Linked DNA regions of Homo sapiens: all the other regions are linked to region 2. Evidence: promoter capture Hi-C in human tissues and cell types (Jung and others, 2019). All regions are on one chromosome and are shown on one strand. The core of a region is centred on a gene start or on the middle of the fragment in contact, and the rest is flanking DNA. Distances in the headings are between cores, read along the strand shown.

Region 1 (2,835 bases), core at 319-2,818, 310 kb before region 2:
GAGCAGCCGTGCGTGTATCTCAAGGAACTAAATAAGATGACGCTACTCCTCATAGCACCACAACCTGAATGTGTGTTCATATTTTTTTGTTAGTTTTATCCAAAATGTTTAAGATCCCAACAAACTTTATTTTCTAAACCTGCCTTCCTTCTGTTTTGTGTCTTTTATTAAACAAACACCTGAAGGAGGGCTAGGAGACTGCAGGAGGGAGAGCAATCACAGGTCCCAGAAGCGACTCCGGCCTCCTCCCGGCCCAGAGCTAGTCCTTAGAATGTGCTGCGCTCCTGAGCTTCTGTGGGAAGCTGCTTTTGCCTCTGATGGCCCCTGCCCACTGTGCTGCCCGTGCTAGCCCCTCTCCTCCCTCATGGAGTGAAGCCACCCCTCACCTCCAGGTGGCCAGCCAGGGCTCCAGGCCAGCCTCATGGTGCACAGAGGGAAGGGGTGCCCAGTGACCACTGGTCCTGGAGGTTCTGTGTCCTTACCTGACCCCACACAGACCCAGGCAGGCTGGGGGTAGAAGCTCATGCAGGAACTAAACACTAAGCTCAACAACTTCACAGTCGCCGTAGCAGGTCAGAGCCAAAGAAGCTAGGGCCAGAGAGTTCTGGAAGGGGGAGAAGTGGCTCCAGGTGACTGGTCACTTCTGCTCTGTGCCCGACATCATCAGCCCTTCTTGCCAAAAAGGAGCATCTGCTGAAACAGACCTGGATCATCGAAAACACACCTTTGGAAATTACATTAGGATTCTCACTTGTGCCAATGCTATGTATGCCAGGCACTTTTGCCTAATCAAGTGTTTTCTCTGAGAAGGAAAAGAAAACTCCACACATCTTAAAATACTCTCCAATATTTACTTTTTGATTATATAAATTCCTTTTAAAAAGTAGTATTAAAAACAAAACCATTCAGGTTAATTTGTATGGAAAGAGATTTAAGTGGCTGATTTCAAATGAAAAATCAGTGTCAGTCCCCCTCCTGCCTCTTGAGAGGCCCCAAGAAATGACAGCAGACCCGATCACTCTGACAACCCCAGGCTCCGAATTCATTAAGCAGTTTTCTTCACCCAAAGGTTAATCAGAATTCAGGGTGAGGCATACTCCTTGCAGCACCCAGTGAGAAATGTGCCTCGTGGTAAAGAGATCAGCTTCAAAAACCAAGCCGACTCCCATGGCGTTCCTTCTCATGGAGGTGGTGTAGACGGGGGTCCGGAAAGTATTCTGCAAGGGAAAGGCAGGTGAGATGCCCCCACGGAGAGAGGGTGCAGAGGGATAAAGGCAGAGGTGCAGTGTAAGTCTTGACAGGCAGGGGCCCCTGTGCAAGACTGCACCTGAGAACACGCACAAGGCTGGGGCTGCTCAGGGCCACCCTCCGCCAGCTTCACGGGGACCTGGCTTCACACTGACACCCTGGTTAAAAGTGGGTCCTGGCCCAGGCAGAGCAGAAGACATCTGCTGTCCACACCAGCGGGAACCACTTTATGACTCAGGCAATGTCTGCAGCATTTTGCAAGAAGGGAGGGAGTCTCCCCTTGGTTAGTCTAGACCACAGGATCACAGCTTGAGCCTGACACCTCTGGAAGGACCGGCATCCACACACACATACAGCCGCGCCTTTTCCAGGAAGCAGCTATCCGTAGCTTTTATCACGGCTCCAAGACTCTCCCCAGCCCATAAAGCTTAGGCACCCCTGTTTTAAAAAGTAGGACTGTTGGAAACCACCTCAGCCATAACTACAGTCAGAAGAGGAAGGGCCCTGGTGTCAGAGAGGAGGGGCTGGGACCTTCACCTGCAGCTTGAGGCGATGGGCTTCAATGGGGATGATCTTCAGGATCGGCAGGTCCACAACCAGCACCTTGGGTTTGCTCTTGATAAGACATCCTTTTTCTATATCCCAGTCAGCACCTTCCAGGTACAGTCCTGAGACAAAGCATCCTAGGGACACAAGGCAGAGACTGGATACAACTGGAGCATGCACAGCCTGCCACGGAGTGGCTCTATCAGGCGCACACACAGCGACACACAGGCCACTGGCTGGCCTCCTCCCCAGCGCATTGGGGACAGCCCAGGCCCTTCTCCAGCATTTCTGTCCTGCCCACCTTCCCTCTGTGGAGGAGCAGCCCAGACAGGAGACCCTGTGGCCCTGCCCCATGGCCCAGAGAAATGGGTGTGGGGCGGTGGCCTCTCCCCCAGGAATCCTCATTCCTGGGGCATCAAGGCCCACGGACTTAGACCACCCTGGGCCCCCAGGCTAGAAAGATGCATGGTCCCAGAGTCAGAATGGGCACCATGGCAACCCCAGCTACCCTGTGAGCCGAAGTGGCTGGGGAGCAGGAAGTCGAAGCCTCACAGAGAAAGTGGTCTCCGGGGAGGAGGACCCAGCAGATGTGCAAAGAGAGGAACACACTCCTGTGGCCCCAGAGAGAGTGGTGGCCCGGACACCTGCCACCTCCCCTGCCACTGAGACCTGGAGAGTCCCTGCATCTTTACCGTAAGTCCCCAGTCCTTAAGCCATCTCAAAAGAGCTTTTGTTCCTTGCAGTTAAAAGAACTCTAAGACAACATGGACCCGGGGAAACAGCAGTTTCCAGCTCTCATTTGCACAGTCAGTAACCAATGTCTAAGGGACCTGAAGTTCTGGCATAATCAAAGAGTTCCAACCAAGTTAGTCCATGCTGCTCTGTGGCTCCCATGCCCCTGGCCCCGTCAGGGGTTACAAGAAAGCCACCTGATGGTTTTTGCAAGAGCTAATTCTGACCTAGGAGCCCACTTGCCATGAGCTAGCAGAGTGAACATGGTTCAGGTCTCCCCTGCCATAGACCCCAGGTCTCAACGGAGAA
Region 2 (2,751 bases), core at 231-2,730:
TTGGCTTGAATTGGAATTGGGGTTTGTCTGGTTTTTGCTTTATTTATGTGTATATGTATGTTTTATTTATGCATATATATACACACACATAATATATATACACAAATATTTTTAAAATATTATTTATATATTTACATATAAAGTATGTATGTATAAAATACGTGTATTTATATATAAATATTATATATATTTTAAAATAGAGACACATTCACTCTGTTGCCCAGGCTGTAGTGTAGTACAGTGATCATAGCTTACTGCAGTCTTGAACTCCTAGCCTGAAGCAATCTTTCCACTTCCCAAAGTGCTAGGATTACAGGCATGAGCCACTGTGGCCGGCCTGTCATTTGTTTTCATTTTAATTGAGCACATTTGACCTCAATTTATTACAATCTCTCTCTCCATTATTTAATTTAGAAAAGCTTCATGAAAGCTTTTTTTAGTTAAAATATATGTAACATAAGGCCGGGCGTAGTAGCTCACGCCTATAATCCCAGCACTTTGGGAGGCTGAGGCAGGTAGATCATCTGAGGTCAGGAGTTCGAGACCAGCCTGGCCAACATGGTGAAACCCCATATCTACTAAAAATACAAAAAATTAGCTGGGCATGGTGGCGGGTGCCTGTAATCCCAGCTACTTGGCAGGCTGACGCAGGAGAATCGCTTGAACCTGGGAGGCGGAGGTCTGCAGGCAGAGTGTTGAGTCACATGGTAACTATATATTTAACTTTCAGAAACTAATGATTTTCCACAGCAGCTGCACTACTTTACATTCCCACTAGCAAAGCACAAAGGTTCCAATTTCTCTACATCCTTGCCAACACTTGTTTTTTTAAATTTTTTTATTTTTTGAGATGGAGTTTCACTCTTGCTGTCCAGGCTGGAGTGCAATGGCACAGTCTTGGCTCACTGCAACCTCCAGTGCCCGGGTTCAAGCGAGTCTCCTGCTTCAGCCTCCCTAGTAGCTGGGATTACAGGCACCCCCCATCCCACCATGCCCAGCTAATTTTTTGTATTTTTAGTAGAGATGGGGTTTCCCTATATTGGCCAGCTGGTCTCAAACTCCTGACCTCAGGTGATCCACCCACCTCGGCCTCCCAAAGTGCTGGGATTACAGGCGTGAGCCACCACATCCAGCCTCTAGTGGCTGTTTCTATATCCTTTGAGAAACATTTATTTTTTTGATTCCAAAGTCAGAATTAGATATATCTAATATATGTATTAGATATATGTATATCTATATTATATACATAACTTTCTATTGCTGTTTTTTAATTGTTCCTTTATTGTAATTGAGACGAGGTCTCACCGTGTTGCCTAGGCTGGTCCCAAACTCATGGGTTCAGGTGATCCACCCACCTCGGCCTCCCAAAATGCTGGAATACAGGCATGCACCACTGTGCCCGGCCCGCTTTTCTGTGGCTTCTACTTCAGATGCACTCTAGAGCTCATCCATTCCATTTTCTGCCTTCCCAGATTGGAACCAACCAGATGGCTGTGTGTGCCAAAGCACAGAACAAACCTTTCTATGTGGTTGCAGAAAGTTTCAAGTTTGTCCGGCTCTTTCCACTAAACCAGCAAGACGTCCCAGATAAGTTTAAGGCAAGAGTTTTACATATTTGAAGGGGTACTAAAGTCTAAACAGAAACCTTTGGAAATTGTAGTCCTAAGAATGTTCCAGTAATTTTTTCACTTCCTATTGCTACTTTCCCCAACACTTGGAATACAAAGATAAATTGGTGATTGGACTCACACATTTGTCCCTAGAACTTCAGTCTTTCAGTCTCTTTAAGTAGCACCATAGATGGGTGGAGAGGAAGCCCGAAGCTGGTGGGTAAGTCCCAGCTTTGGGCTTAACTGAGCTCAGCTCCCATCACCACAACTTACAAACTGTGCGAGTTGAGGCAAGTCCTTTCATTTCAACCTCTGAACCGGTTTTCTTGTCTGTAAAATGGCATAGCAGTATCTGACAGGGTCATGAGGATTCTAAGATAATCTTAGCACAGTCCCTGGCACGCTGCAAGCTCTCTATTGTGACTCTCGATCTTCCCTTGAGAGGTCTGGAGAAGTTAATCCGGCATGAGAATGAGGGGACATGGGATTTAAGTTTGTTACACTACAGCTCTCAGCCAGCACACTGCCATGATCTGGCTCATGGCCACAACTCTGCCCTCGTCTCTAGTGTCCTGCATAGCTTAGTTTCTCCCATTTTCAGAGAGCAGTCTCAGGAAGTAGCACACTGATCACTCACACCAAGGCCCTACCAGGTCAGAGCACTAAATATTCAGTGCCGACTAATGTGTACTTCTCTCCTCAGTATAAGGCAGACACTCTCAAGGTCGCGCAGACTGGACAAGACCTCAAAGAGGAGCATCCGTGGGTCGACTACACTGCCCCTTCCTTAATCACTCTGCTGTTTACAGACCTGGGCGTGCTGACACCCTCAGCAGTCAGCGATGAGCTCATCAAGCTCTATCTGTAACCTGTGAGCCCTTTCCTGCCAAGGTGCAGCTTACGTAGTTGAGGCAGGGTGAGTAGCTGCTTGACACCCCAGTGAGTCAGGCCAAAACTGAGATGTGTTTAATGAAGATTTATGGAGTAAGGACTTAAAATCATACATCTTGGAGAACCTTTCTTACTCATTTCAGTCCCATCTAAAAATGTGTCAGCTATTCTAAATCCCAACTTAAATTGTTCTTACGGTTTCTAGAAACTTTCCTTTTCAGTTTCCAGAAATACAAGTTAGATAATTGGC
Region 3 (2,744 bases), core at 158-2,657, 470 kb after region 2:
ATAATGTGAGAAATGTGCTTTTTACAGTGCTGCTGGTGGGTAGACAAGTGCTTGCTGCAGTTGTTTCTGAATCTAGCCAGATGCTGGAGTCGTGAAGCTGTAAGCTCCGCGGGAGCAGGGACCATCTCTCTTTCTTGCACTACAGGCACTCAATAAATACTTGTGGCTGTGAACTGGCGTGTGGCCTTTGTGTGTTTATTTCTGCTAGCTGGCTGCAGGAGCGGGTTGTTGGTGATTTTAAGTCCCAGGCATAGAGAAGTCCTTGAGTTATGGGTTAAGGGGCGTCCATCCAGGAGCACAGTTCCCGTTGGGACTCTGTGGGCTCCGCAGATCTTTCTGGATGGATCCTAGGGCACCTCTTGGTGGAGGGAAGGAGCTGAAGCGTTCTAGGTGATGGTGGTACGCCTTGGTCCTCCTCTGCGTGGTCATGGTCAGGGGCACCTGGAGGCGAGTCGGGAACGATGGCCTTCCTGGCCCGTTCAGTTGGGTTCTGCCGTGACCCCAGGAGGTGAGCAGCTGTCAGGGGCTCGGCCTCCCCGGCTTCATCTGGAGTCATCTAGGCCGCCTTAATTTTAGCTTGTCCTCTCTCCTCCAGGGGAGCACCGCCGTCTCCTCAGCCTTATAAGGTGACAAGTAGGGATGGGTCACACATCACTAAGTTTTAGGTGTGCTCTCTTTAGTTCCATGACTTCAGATTTTGCCAAACAAGTCCACCCTGGCTCAACCTAACAAACACCTCATGTTTTTAAGGAATGTCACCAGGCGCTCCCCCACCGGGGGCTCTTCCCATTGGAGAGCCCTGTCGTGCCAGATCATCCGGATTAAACTGTTCGTGATCCTCTTCCAGCTACTCCCTGAGGTGGGGACCGGGACGGCTGCGCTCCCGGCTCTGCCGTTCCCTGGGCCGCGGCCCGGGCGTCCTGAGGGGAGAGCGCGGACCCACCGTGTGGCGAGCACCGCGCCCGGGGCTGGGCTTCGGTGAGCTGCCCGCTGCGCTCTGCCCTCCCTGGTTTACCATTTCGCTCCTAAGAAACTTCATTTTTTAAAATGAGGCTGTTTTAAGAGTCACAGTGGCCGCAAGTCGGCCGGTTCCCGCCCCCGAGTGCGCTCGGCTGCTGCGGACGGTGGGCGAGGAGCCCGGGGCGGGGATCCGCGCCGCCGCCCCCGAGTCCAGTCCCGGGCCCTGAGGACACGGGCGAGCCGGGGAGGAGCGGGGTCGCCGCGGCAGGTCTGAGGAACCAGGCGGGCTGCCCGAGTCGGAGAGGTTTCTTCCGGCGGAGGCGGCGGGGCCGGGCCGAGACTCCGCAGGGACGCGCCCCCGCCGCCGCCGCCGCCGCTCCCCCGCGCGGCCTGAGGAGGCGCCGCCGCCACTGAGGGAATGCGAGCCCGGCCCGGCGCGCGCGGGCAGCAGCGGCCGCTGGGGTGCGCGGGGCACCGCGGCGCCGCGGCGTAGAGCTGTCCAGCCGGCCCCGGCCGCCCGCCCGGCGCTTCCTTCTCAGCTCGCGGCCGCCTCAGCGAGAGCCGCCCGCCAGCACGTGCGCCGCCGCCGCCCGCCTGCGACGCTCGGGAGCAATGCCCGCCGGGGCTCTGCCGCTCGCCCGGGGCCAGCAGGCGGCGGGGGCGCGCGGGGCGCAGCCGGCCGGGCCGGGGCCGCGGGGCGGGCGCTCCCCGTGAGGCGGCGTGAGGTGGCGGCGGCCCAGCCGGGGCCCCGAAGAGGACAGAGCCCGCGGCCGCGCCGAGCGGGGTGAGTGCGTCCGGGCGGCCGCTCCGCAGGCCCGCGGTGAGTCCCGCAGTGCCGGGCGCTGGCCGGGGACCTGGGGATCTGGGCGGCGGCTCCCAGAGAGGCCCCGGCCCGCCCGCCCGCCGAGCCTCCAGCCCGCCGGGGGCTGGAGGAGGGAGCGGAGACCCGGGCAGGGAGGAGGGTGTGGCGTACGGGAGCCCCGCTCGGGAGACCGCCCGAGCCTGGCCTCAGTGAGTCGCCGGCCCTGGATCCGTGCCCGAAACGCTGATTTCCGAATTTCCGTCGGTCGCGACCGCGTGGGGGACCCCCGCCAGGGACAAGTGTCATAGCGGTCGGGGGGCAGGCGTGGGCAGTGCCGGTGCCAGGGCGAGGAAGGGGCTATCGGGAGGAAGCGGAGGTGAGCCCCCGGCCCGCCTTCTCTGCTTCCCGCCTCCAGCTGAACGTCCCCAGGCCCGGGCCGTGGCCTCTGCTTGTCGGGGGCCCAGGGTTGGGGTGTGGCCCGTCTCCATCCTCAGTGCCCCCTTCGTGTGGTAATGGGGTGCCGGCTCTGTCTTCTTCCCACCCCGAATCCTTTCTTATCCGTGGCAGGGCTGATCGGGGGGCCTTGGGGAGAGGGAAAGTTCAGTGTCCCCCGCCCCAGTGTGCACTGCCTCCCCGCAAGAAATCCCAAACGGCCACTCCAGGTGAACATAGTGCGCGCGGTGCAAATGTCATTTCAAGGCAAGTCCTCCAGGCTTGTCCCCTTTCCACCGACTTGCTCCTGCAGAGACATCCTGCACTCCTCTCCCTCCCACTGAAGTGTGGGCTGGGTGCCTCTCCAAACACCCCGGCCTACCTGCCTCCCCCACCCAGAGTCGGGATTCTTCAAAGGAGACCTCACTGGAACATCTGTCTTTGTCCACAACCAGCTCTCTCCCCGGCCTCCACCTGGGAGTGACCAGAGCTGCTAGGATAGACCCCCCACTTCTGGAGGGAAGGCAGTAAGTGCTCCCCTTCATCTGAA

The links. Contacts are between HindIII fragments. The study calls those that stand out against the background at their distance.
Region 1: a contact is called between the fragment with the promoter of DNAH10OS here and a fragment that was not itself captured in region 2, in 4 of the 25 tissues and cell types used here (bladder, dorsolateral prefrontal cortex, lymphoblastoid cells and 1 more).
Region 3: a contact is called between the fragment with the promoter of PITPNM2 here and a fragment that was not itself captured in region 2, in 3 of the 25 tissues and cell types used here (aorta, dorsolateral prefrontal cortex and heart right ventricle).

What each region holds. Positions count from the first base shown.
Region 1 is chr12:123,933,717-123,936,551 of GRCh38, reverse strand. It overlaps DNAH10OS (dynein axonemal heavy chain 10 opposite strand), which reads left to right and starts at 1,568. Exons shown (of 2, transcript NR_187476.1): 1 at 1,568-2,487. DNAH10 (dynein axonemal heavy chain 10) reads right to left here. Exons shown (of 79, transcript NM_001372106.1): 78 at 1,786-1,931; 79 at 838-1,217. The coding sequence ends at 1,071. CCDC92 (coiled-coil domain containing 92) reads left to right here. Exons shown (of 5, transcript NM_025140.3): 5 at 1-926. The HindIII fragment of the contact is 2,982 bases long and covers 1-2,612 here.
Region 2 is chr12:123,621,483-123,624,233 of GRCh38, reverse strand. It overlaps EIF2B1 (eukaryotic translation initiation factor 2B subunit alpha), which reads left to right. Exons shown (of 9, transcript NM_001414.4): 8 at 1,473-1,598; 9 at 2,314-2,751. The coding sequence ends at 2,478. Among named protein-coding and RNA genes, the nearest start is that of SNORA9B, 6.1 kb to the right of the region's middle. RefSeq lists an enhancer at 1,658-2,751. The HindIII fragment of the contact is 7,939 bases long and covers 1-2,751 here.
Region 3 is chr12:123,149,753-123,152,496 of GRCh38, reverse strand. It overlaps PITPNM2 (phosphatidylinositol transfer protein membrane associated 2), which reads left to right and starts at 1,407. Exons shown (of 26, transcript NM_020845.3): 1 at 1,407-1,744. It also overlaps a transcript of MPHOSPH9 not described here. RefSeq lists silencers at 1,024-1,223, 1,244-1,503, 1,524-1,663, 1,764-1,853. The HindIII fragment of the contact is 7,714 bases long and covers 1-2,744 here.